Linked DNA regions of Homo sapiens: all the other regions are linked to region 3. The links are contacts of gene promoters, found by promoter capture Hi-C in blood cells and fetal thymus (Javierre and others, 2016). All regions are on one chromosome and are shown on one strand. The core of a region is centred on a gene start or on the middle of the fragment in contact, and the rest is flanking DNA. Distances in the headings are between cores, read along the strand shown. Region 1 has its middle 12 kb from the start of LILRA5. Region 2 overlaps CNOT3 (CCR4-NOT transcription complex subunit 3). Region 3 holds the start of LILRA6 (leukocyte immunoglobulin like receptor A6).

The links. The method cuts DNA at HindIII sites, captures the fragments that hold promoters and counts their contacts. A CHiCAGO score of 5 or more calls a contact.
Region 1: a fragment that was not itself captured here is called in contact with the fragment with the promoter of LILRA6 in region 3 in 2 of 17 cell types (M1 macrophages and M0 macrophages); the score reaches 6.6 in M1 macrophages.
Region 2: a contact is called between a fragment that was not itself captured here and the fragment with the promoter of LILRA6 in region 3, in 1 of 17 cell types (neutrophils). The highest score is 7.4, in neutrophils.

Annotation. Positions count from the first base shown.
Region 1 is chr19:54,323,052-54,326,426 of GRCh38, forward strand. No RefSeq gene overlaps it. Among named protein-coding and RNA genes, the nearest start is that of LILRA5, 12 kb to the left of the region's middle. RefSeq lists a silencer at 2,126-2,420. The HindIII fragment of the contact is 479 bases long and covers 1,242-1,720 here.
Region 2 is chr19:54,139,415-54,142,995 of GRCh38, forward strand. CNOT3 (CCR4-NOT transcription complex subunit 3) reads left to right here. Exons shown (of 18, transcript NM_014516.4): 2 at 3,515-3,581. The coding sequence starts at 3,565. Among named protein-coding and RNA genes, the nearest start is that of CNOT3, 3.4 kb to the left of the region's middle. The HindIII fragment of the contact is 4,608 bases long and covers 28-3,581 here.
Region 3 is chr19:54,240,486-54,244,230 of GRCh38, forward strand. It overlaps LILRA6 (leukocyte immunoglobulin like receptor A6), which reads right to left and starts at 2,305. Exons shown (of 8, transcript NM_024318.5): 1 at 2,233-2,305; 2 at 2,034-2,069; 3 at 1,541-1,825; 4 at 1,091-1,393; 5 at 346-642; 6 at 1-91. The coding sequence starts at 2,266. It overlaps LOC107987463 (a long non-coding RNA gene), which reads right to left. Exons shown (of 3, transcript XR_007067341.1): 3 at 2,908-2,976. RefSeq lists an enhancer at 3,380-3,745. The HindIII fragment of the contact is 25,461 bases long and covers 1-3,745 here.

The DNA of each region.
Region 1 (3,375 bases), core at 231-2,730, 82 kb after region 3:
ACGCTGGCGTCACCGCTAGACCAAGGAGCCCTCTGGTGGCCCTGTCCGGGCATGACAGAGGGCTCGCACTCTTGTCTTCTGGTCACTTCTCACTGTGTCCCCTCAGCTCCTATCTCTGTATGGCCTGGCTTTTCCTAGGTTATGATTACAGAGGGAGGATTATTATAATATTGGGATAAAGGGTAACTGCTACAAACAAATGATTAATGATATTCATATATAATCATAACTAAGATCTATATCTGGTATAACTATTCTTGTTTTATATTTTATTATACTGGAACAGCTCGTGTCCTCTGTCTCTTGCCTCGGCACCTGGGTGGCTTGCCACCCACAGCATTCTAGCCTGGGCGACGAGCAAGACTCCGTTTAAAAATATATATATATACATATATAAACATATTCCTGAATGTCTATACTATAAAATATTTTTAAATATAACTTATAAATCTAAAGATAATACCTTAAAAAAGGAAATAGAATTGAGTTCCTATCAAATTAGGGCATTACTAAACAAGGAAGAATTATTTGTACTAGAATGTAAGCAAAATTACTTGACCATATATTTTATAATGCATATATTATTTATCATATTATATAATAAATGTATACTTTTAAATCAAATTATATATTATGTAGTGACATATAGTTAATATTATTATATAATTTTGACTATATATAGTAAAACATAAGTGAATACACCCTCAAAAATGTTTAATTCTTAAAATATGTATGGTCAAAAATTCTAAATTTCATCCTAGAGAAATAGCTGACTCCACATTCGGAGAGAAAATACAGGAGATGAAGTCAGAACTTCTTATCATGCAAGAAAGCAAAGACATCACCACATACCATCAGATTCATGTTACCTGAACATAAAGTCTATCATGAAAAGTTCCCAATGGCAAAATGTGGAATATTTATAGAATCAAATAATATAGGTAGTGTATTAAAACTAATGAATATGTTCAAAGCCTATCAGTTTACTACTGTTAAAAACAAAATTAAAAAACAAAAAACCCCTCAAATATGAGGAATGGGAAAAGAACAAAATCTCCACATCAAAAACGTGGAAATGAAGGCAAGAAGCAAGATCTCTTTTGTTTATCTGAAGTGTTACACAGGAAACATTCTTTTCTGTAGAATGTTTCTACATAATAATAAGTATAGTAATAGCTATAGTAATGTTTTTGCCTAAGAATAGCTGTAGAGTTTTTGCATAATAATAGTTAACCCTGCAAAGCTTGGATAACCTGTGCGTTGAGTATACAAGCAATAAACATCAATGGCTGCCAAAACCCTTAGGCTGAAGGTTGATAGTGAATATAATAACGAGTGGATCCTGCTGATAGTACAGCCATCAGTACAGAATTGCAAGGTGGAGAATGCAAGACACAAGCAAATGAGCCATTGTGTCTCACTTCTGACATTTTCTAAGCATCTTTTTCACCATACCCTCAAATCTAGACCGTTATCTGGCTGGGCGTCTCTATGTTTCTTGGATTTGTGTGTCAAACTCTCTAGCGAGTTTAGGAAAATATTCATGGACTATATCCTCAAATATATTTTCCAAGTTGCTTATTCTCTCTTCCCCTTTCAGGAATGCTGACAAGTCATACATTTGGTGTCTTTAGATAATATCATATTTCTCAGAGATTTTGTTCACTTTTAAAAATATTTTTTCCTTATATTTGACTGATTTGATTCAAACAAGTCTTCAAGCTTTGAAATTCTTTTCCTCAGCTTGGTCTATTCTGCTGTTAATGCTTCTCATCGTATTATGAAATTCGTGTCATGAATTTTTCAGCTCGAGAAGTTCAGTTTGGGTGTTTCTTAAAATTTAATCGTTCATGTCATTAATCATTTTACTGGATTGCTTGGCTTCCTTGGATTGAATTTCAACTTTGCTCTTGATTTGAATGACCTTCCTTGCCATCCAGATTCCAAATTCTACGTTTGTCATTTCAGACAATTCATACTGATTAAGAACAATTTCTGGGGAGCTCGTGGACTGGTTTGGAGATAATAGGAGTTATTTCCCTGATTTTTTTTCTCATCTGGGAGGGTTGCTATTCCTTTCATTGCAAGGGTATAAATTGAGTATAGTCTGTTGGCTTTATTTCTGGAAGTTTTCAGGGGACTAAGGCTCTGTACAGGGTCTTTGCTGAATTCTTGCTCTTGGTTTTCCAGGCGGTAGAATTTAGTAAAGTGATTTTTGGTGTTGTAGTGTGGCTGTAATCCAGTAGATGGCGCTTGAGAGCAATAGGCAATAGACAGGCTCTTACTCCACTGCGTGGTGCCTTTGTTTATCTTTGTTCTTGACCTTGATACTTTTGAAAAGGTCAGAGCAGTTTTTTTGTTTTTGTTTTTTGAGACAGGGTCTCACTTTGTCACCCAGGGTGGAGTGCAGTGGCACGATCTTGGATCACTGCAGCCTCAACCTTCCCAGGCTCAGGTAGGTGACAGAGCAGGCAAGTTAACTTAAGGCCTCCTCCTTGGCAATCTGGTCTCAAGTAGGGGACAGGTCCCCACAGACAGAACTGAGGGGCAAGTGTGGCATGGGCTCCAGACCCCGAGCACTGGAATTAGACACCTCTCCTTTGCAGAAAGGTTTAGCCTTTCCTCAAGCGGTTCTGCAAAGGAGAGGTGTAGCTGGGGTGGCGTGGGCAATGGTGGTGGCAGAGTTTGTGTGAAACTTGTCTCTTCCCCAATCACTGTCACTTGTTTCAGGAGACGTTGTAATGTGCTGTATGGTTTGACCTCCAGGCCAGTAGGTGGCAATTGCTGGTGAGAGCCAGTTGTAGCGCTGGCAGTGGGCTTTATGCTTGACCTTTGTTAACCAGAAGCATTCAGGTATCCTAAGTGATGGGTTGGGTTGTGGAAAACTCAGTGGTCTTGATCAGTACTCTGCCTCCAACGCAGGGAAATGAAGGTAAGTGTGGCTGGTCCAGGCAAGCCTGTACTCAGGCCCAATGCTAGGCACAGGCTCCGTCCCCACAGAGGCTACATGTGTGGTTCTCAGGTCCCTGGAGAGACACTCAAGCACTGAGTAGGGCAATGACTATTATGCCAAAGTTACAGCAGAGTTCCCCAGAGGGGCACGTTGGGTTCCAAGCCTAGAAAATGACAGTGGGACTCACTTTAATCTAATGCTCCCAACCCAGCAGAGCTCCTCCCTGTGGCCCAATGCTGGAAGCAATTTCAGACCGTCAAATCACATGCGGTTTGATGTCAGACCACTCAACTACCCCAGGCCACAGATCTTGCCTCCTGGGTAAAATCCATGCCTCTCAGGCTACAACTTTTCCCCCTCGGTTCTGTCAAAGAGAGGTGTCCAACGCCAGTGCTTGGTGTCTGGAGCCCATGCCACAATTG
Region 2 (3,581 bases), core at 1,082-3,581, 100 kb before region 3:
CGCTGCTGGTACCCCATGAGAGTAGGAAGCTTCCTAGACCCGGGTTCCTGTACTGCGAGGTGGGGGCTCTTCCCTCTGGGGCTGTGCCTTCTCTCCAGGGTAAGGACCCTTTCTTGGTGTCACCTCCCCCAGGGATAAGGTTCTTGCCATCCTTGGTATTGGTATGGCTGCTTTTCTGGATTTGAGGTGTCCACGCCTCTGCATGTGTCCCCACCGTAAGGCTGAGGACCCCTCTCGGATGCAGGTGCCCCCGGCTAATGCTTCCAAAACCCCCTCTTGATTTGTCACTGTATGGGGTAAGGCATAGTTTCCTGGCTGTGTGGATGTAAGATACCTGAGTCTCAAGCGGGAGACTCCACTGTAGACCCTGTCCCTGGGACCAGAGACTTCTCTGGTGTAGACTTTCCAAGGTGGGAGATTCCAGCCCCCCACCCTTGGCATGGGGCATCTCAGTGGAGATGACTACCTCTACCCCAGGCCCTAACGCATCCTTCTTCTGGAGTCTCAGAGCCTCTGTGTGGCCACGTCAGCAGCCACCTGGGTTAAGGATCACCCTTCAACATCACTTCTCAGAGCTCCTTGCTGCAGAGGCGGAAGCTCTCCCAGATCAAAGGTGCCTCATGACAAAGACCACTCTGTGGGCACATGACGGCCCCCAAGGTTAAGGACCACCCGGTGTTAGTTTCCCAGGGCTGACCTCCTGCCCCTCCCTCCTCGAGTCTTTGTGTGGTGGTATCATCTTCCCTGAGATGAAGTCTGGGGGGCTCTTCTTTACTGGTTTTGGCTCTGATTTTAGCGTGTTGGCTCCTGTGAGGCTGGTGTCCTGCTCACCTCCCCCCACCCCGCCACCCGCCTTGTGGGTCCCTTCCCTGTGGGGATGTGTGTTCCTCTTGGGTAAGTCTCCTCCTGGGCCGAGGTTCCCAGATTCCTCAGTGCTCTTGGAGAGCCTTTGCTGCTGGAGCACAGGTTCTTCACGCCTGAGAGTGGACCTGCGATCACCACCTTCCTTGGAGGATCTTGGTGGATGCCCCCCTGACTACAGCAAATGGGGCTCTTTCTTCTCTGGCGGCGTCTCTGCTTCGAGACTCAGGCTCCAGCTTCCCTTCTCTCTGGTCCTTTGCTGGGGGGACCAGAGGTACAGATACCCTCATGATATAGGGATTTTCTTAGCGGGGAAGGTGTTGTCTCTACTGTGGCTAAGGCTCCAGCCTCTCTAGGGGACAAGTACCCTGGGCCTCTGGCACTTGCCCCTTCTCTGTGGAGGAGCTGCCTCCTCACTGGGTCTCAGCTGTAGCCGACTTCGATGTCACACTGTTCTGTCTGAAACATCACCTCCCTGGGTTAGCGCTCTTGTTCCCCTCCTCCTGGCTTGTGACCCCTCCAGGACTTCCTTCTCTTGCTGCCACAGTGTGGTCTCCTGTCTGTGGGTATTCTTCCTCTGCACTAGGATACCAGTCCTTTCCGTGTGGAGACACAGGGAGGGCGTCACCTGCCTAAGGTGTTGATTGCCTTGTTTAGGGGTGTAGACCATGAGACCTCTTCTCTCTCTGGGCTGGAGCACCTGCCCATGACCCTCTGTTGGGTTCTTGGGATGGAAAGAGGGAGTGTAAACTCTCGTTTCACATTCTTGTTCCCCCTATGCAGTAAGAGGCTTTTCTGTGTTGGGGTGTTGGACTTTGGTGAGGATCCCTGCACACCTGAGCTCTGGTGTCCAGGCCCTTGCCTTGTGTGAGCTCCCTGGGTCAAAGAGGCTTTCCCCTCCTCAGCCTGAATCCCCACTGTGGCACCTTCTCCTGGGTCCTTTTGTTGGTTGCTTTGCCTTCTTAGAGATTCCCCAGGTAGGGCGTGATAGCTGACCTGGGCGGGGGCTGCTGCGGCTTTCTTTAGGTTGGGCCTTTTACTGAGGAGATTTAAATTCCCTCAAGTGTAAGGTAGCACCCCTACCTATTATCACCCAGAATGGGTCCCTGCGGTGTTGGGAAAATTCTCCCTGGGGGTAAGGTACCAGCCCTGTCCTTTGTGGGCTTCTTGTTCTAAAGCATATCCGTCCCATATGGTTGCTGCTAGTCACATGTGGTGATTAGTAACTAGTTAAAAATGAAAAATTCAGTTCCTCCATTACACTTGCCACATTTCAGATGTTCAGTGGCCAACAGATATGCGCAAATAGAGTGTTTCCAGCATTGCAAAGTTCTGTTGGATAGCACTGTTTGCCAGATGTTCCCTTCTTTGTGGGTGAGGACTCTTTTGGTGTGACTTCCCTCTGTATTGAGGCTCTTGTTCCTCAGTATGGGGCTGTTTCTGTCTTTACAGTAAGTGACTACTCCAGGGTTCCCTGCCCTGCACACGTAGAGTGGGAGCGGCCCGTGGATCCCAGGGAACTGTGCTTTTCATTGTAGGCCCCCTCCCTGGAGGGGAAGAGGGCAATCTCCGCTGGTATCTCAGAAGTCTTCTTCTGAGGCATAAGCCTCTCTTCCCAGGGCTCCCCTGGTCTCGCTGTCAGGCCCTAAGGTATGTCTTCCCTTGGACTAAAGCTCCTTGGAACTCCCTTTTGACCTCAGTCTTCTCTGGGTTCCAGGTAACTTCCTTTAAAATAAAGACGCTCCTCTCTTGAAGTTTTGGGTTCCTGCCCTGATGGTCTATGTCTCCCTGACTCTAAATTACCAATCCACTTGCTATGGGATTCCTCCGTGAGTGCAGATCGGCTCCCTCACAGCTGCGGTACCTTTGCACCCTCTTATCTTAGTAAGATTTCTGTCTTCTCCCAGGTCTCTCTTGGGTACTGCCTTCTGCCCCCAAATCTCTAAGCCTTCTTGGTATTAGCTTCTTTGGGTTAGGAGTGTTATTTCCTTTTGGTTTAAGGATCCTGCTCTGGAATAAATGTCTTGGTGGTTTGAGTCCCTTCTACTTGGCATTCAGCCCTGTCTGCATGAGCGGGTTCAGCTCTTCACAGCTTTCGGCATCTCTGCTCGCCGTCGTTTTCCCCCACCCCCAATCTTTCTTCTCCTACCTACAGCTTACACACACACACACACACGCCCTTCTCTGTGAGCTGCCAGTTTCATTTGTCTCCTGACTTGTCTGAGGGATGACCTCTCCTAGCCACCTCTGCCCAGCCCCTCTGAGTAGGAAGTGTGATCTCCAGGGCTAATGCCTCCATCCCAGTCATCAGCTGTGTGCAGCATGACTGTCCTGCTCTGAAAAACCTTTTTGAGTGTATTCTGGGGAGAAGGTACTCCATGCTCTAGGAATTTTCCACTTCCTGAGTCAGAGGCACACAAAAAAGTATGTAACTTTTCTTGTTTCAACAAACTTATGGGGTCCCCTGTTGGCCAGACACTATGCTGGGCAGTCAAGCGAGCATCAGGAGAACTGGGGCTGGTCTCTTGTCAGATAGCAAATGCTTCTTCTCTTTACCAGTCCCACCTACCTCACTATGCTGACTAGGTCCATGTCTCTGGGTTTTTACCAGCCAGGGAATACGTGTTAATTCCTCTCCAATCTCTCCTAGCAGCGTCCGTCTCCAAGAGAGTATGAAGAGAGTGCGTCTGTAGGGCAGGGAAGATGGCGGACAAGCGCAA
Region 3 (3,745 bases), core at 1,055-3,554:
CACCATGACTGACACAGCAGGGTCACGTTCTCTCCTGAGGCCACTGTGGGGCCCGGCTGTGCTGACAGGGAGACGGTGTCATAGATCTGTCCTGGAGAGAAGAAGGATGGGTGAGGGGCTGCCCCACCTTGCTCTGAGCTGACACCTCCCCAGGCCTCTCCCTGGGACCCTCAGTGTCTCTGTCTCTGTTTTCTCTGAGTCTCGCCTCCCCGCCCATCCCCTGTCTCTGTCTGTCTCTCCCTCCCTTGGGACCCCCACCCCTCATCCCGGCCATCACCACCTGGGCTCCCCCGGCAGGGCCTGTGCAGAGCCTGGGTCCCTGACTGAACCCGCTGGGCTCCTCACCTGCCATCAGGATGTTCAGGGGGTCGCTGGGGGCCGACCACTCGGAGGAGAGGTTGTGTGCACCATAGCACCTGTACTGGCCCCCGTGGGAGGGGCTCACAGGGCCCAGGGTGAAGTTGGCCTGGGAGAGCCCAGCCTGGGGCTGCTGGCCAGGGCGCTGGAGGAAGTCACGTTCCCCCTCCTTATACAGAACAAATCTGTCGTAGCCGACATCAGAGCCACACTGGAGGGTCAGGCTCTGCCCAGGGGCCAGGACAGGGCCCTGCAGGGTCAGGAGGGAGGGCTTCCTAGACACGCCTGGAGGGAAAGAGGAGCCAGGACTGAGAGGGCTGGTTCCTCCCACGCCCCTTCCTTCTCCCGTCCTGGCCCTGCAGGTCTCACTGTCTCTCATGCTCTGAGTCTCTGACCCCAGGGCCTCCTTCTCACCCGGGGCTGTCTTGGAGTCATTTCAGAGGAGTGGGGTCTCCCTAGCCCTGGCCACTGTGCCTGATCTTTCCTCCTCTCCCTGAGAGCTGGGACCTCACAGCAAACACACCGATGCCTTCCTGAGTCCTCCCCGTTCAGGTGAGCGTGGCTGAGGGCTCCTCCTCCCATGTCAGAGCCTCCCCATGGGGTCTCCCTCATGCCTTCAGCCCGTCCTTCAACACATCACTCTGGGTCCTTTCCAGATTCAGTCACCAGCCAAACTCCCCACAACCTGTCAGCTGCCCCGAAAGTGTGTTAGACAAGGCCGTGGCTCCCTCACCTGAGGGCAGAATCTCCAGGGGGTCACTGGGGTGGGACCACACCCGGGGGGTGTTCATATAATAGTAATAGCATGTGAACCTCCACCTGTGGCTGGGGTTCACGGGGCCCACAGGGAACAGGGCCTGGAACCCCCCACTGTGGAGCTGCTGTGAGTCCAGGGTCCGGGGGAGCTGGTGTTCTCCTTCCTTCATCAGAACAAAATGGTGATATCCCTTCTGTGAGCCACATTGGAGGGTCATATTCCCCCCTGAGGCCACCACAGGGCTGGGCAGGGCTGAGAGGGTGGGTTTGCTATAGGCTCCTAGGAGAGAAAGAGGCACCATGTTAAATGGGGCTCCCACCTCCCACATCATCCCCAGGGCTGGGCTGTGAGAGGGAGACACCCCTGAGAGCCGACCCCCTTCCTGAGGGCAGAGCCTGGGGCTGGGACCCCAGAGTGTCCTCTCACCTGTCATCACCAGCTCCAGGGGGTCGCTGGGCTCTGACCAGCCTGCAGAGCTGTAATAGTGGCAGCGGTATCTCCCCGCATGGTGCTCTGTTATGGATGGGATGGAGAATCTGGCCTTGTTCTTGGGTTCCAGTGGGTTATTTCTGTCCCAGGGCTCTGGGCTTCCCTCTTTATCCAGTCGGTACTCCTGGGCCTCCAGGCTCCCCTGACACCAGATGGTCACGGGGCTCCCCCAGCTGATCACAGAGCCTGGCTCAGCCCAGAGGGTGGGTTTGGGGAAGGGCCCTAGATGGAAATCAGAGGCTGGATCCCAAGACATCCCCACGCTCAGATCCCAGCTCCCAGCCCCAGGACTTCCTCATCATCCCCATCAGTCACCCAGAACTACTGTCTCCTCCCCACCCAGAACTGCTGTCTCCTCCCCCAGCTGCCCATGTGTGGCCCTTGTCCCTAGTAAGGATGAGGGACCTGGGACAGCTGGGGACAGACTCACCTGCCTGCACGTGGGTCCTGGGGCCCAGACTCAGCCCTGGAAGAGAATTCCCTGTGAGGCATTTGCCCTGAAGCCTGAGCAGGTCCTCCCCGCCCTGGTGCCTCCTGAGCTTTTGAGGTCTCCTGATGGACCAGGGCTTGTGTGTGGGGTGGGGTTCCTCCAAGACTCAGATCTCCCCCTCCCCATCTTGAAATCTCACCTAGGCAGAGCAGGGCTGCGAGGGTGGGGGTCATGGCGTCTCCTCCTGGTGACCCCGGGCTCTGCAGAGGGATGAGCCCTCAGTGCTGGCAGGACAGAGAGACACACAGGGTGTGGCCGCTCGGAGGCTGGGTCCTTCTTGTCATGGGGTTGTCTCATCCTCAGCCCACAGGAAGAGGAACTGCCACCCCAGGAACCTGGCTCTGATTTCCCCAGGGCTGAAGTGGGGGCAGGCACCAGGCTCTCTGCAGGCATTTCAGAGAGAAATGGGGTCTCCCTGCCCCCGGGCCACTGTCTGCCTGATTTATCTTTATCTCACTGAGAGCTAGGACACAGCAGCAAATAGAACCAGTGCCTTCTGGAGTCAGCCCCTTTGAGGCGAGGGTGACTGTGGGCTCATCCTCCCTCTCAGAGCCTCCCCATGGGGTCTCCCTCCCTCCTTCAGCCCGTCCATCAGCTCAGCGTTACGGGGTCCTTACCATGGCAGTCGTCTCTCCAGCCCTGGAGATGCTTCAGGGAAGACCCAGGTCCATGCTGCAGGCAGACTCAGATCAGCAGAGACGCACCTGACACCTGGCTGTGTAGTCCAGGCTGAGCTGCGTGTAGCAGTGAGCACAGAGGAGAAATGCAGCGTCTACCGTGGTGGCTCATGCCTGGAATCCCAGCACTTCAGGAGGCTGTGGCGGGTGATGGCTTGAGGCCAGGAGCTTCAGACAGTCCTGGGAAACAGACTGTGACCCTGTTTCTACAGAAAAGAAAAAAGTGAGCTGGGCATGGAGGCTCATGCCTGTGGTCCCAGCTACTCAGGAGGCTGAGGTGGGAGGACCACCTGGGCCCGGGAGGCGGAGGCTGCAGGGAGATATGATCACCCCTTGGCCTTCCAGCCTGGGCGACAGCGCAGGATCCTGTCTGAAAAGGAGAAATAGAGGGGATAAAGAGAAATATATATATATATATATATATGTTTCATTGTAATCTATAATCTGATTCTGGGGAAGGTGAGCTGATTTGTATTTAATTCCTGATTATCATCTAGGGTTTATGAGACTTTGGACATGAATGTCACCTCTGAGCCTGCTGTCGTGAACCCCACTCATCACAGTGGCTGTGGGGGTCAGTGGTGCCCAGGACATGGGAGGCTCAGCCATGGTGAATTTCCAGACCAGTTCAGACAGGAGGGTGGGGACGGGAGAGGATCCTGGTGCTGGGCTCCACAGTTGAGGAGGATGATTGACGCCCCCATTCAAGAGCCCACATTGGCTCCAAATACCATGAAATTCTTGTGATACGTCTGAAATATGCAGATCATCACAGCCACAGGCCGAGAAAGAGGAAGAACAGTTCCTCACATTGAGACGCATCCCCTTCCATGAGCAGAGTTCAATGCTGAGTGGCCACAGGTGTCTGGGACCACCGAGCGTCATTAGGGAGGAGGAGGCTCCCACCTCCATGTGGGACAGAAGAGGAACCCCACGTCCTCCCAGGCAGGGAGGGGTCAGGGCTCTGGGTGAGGC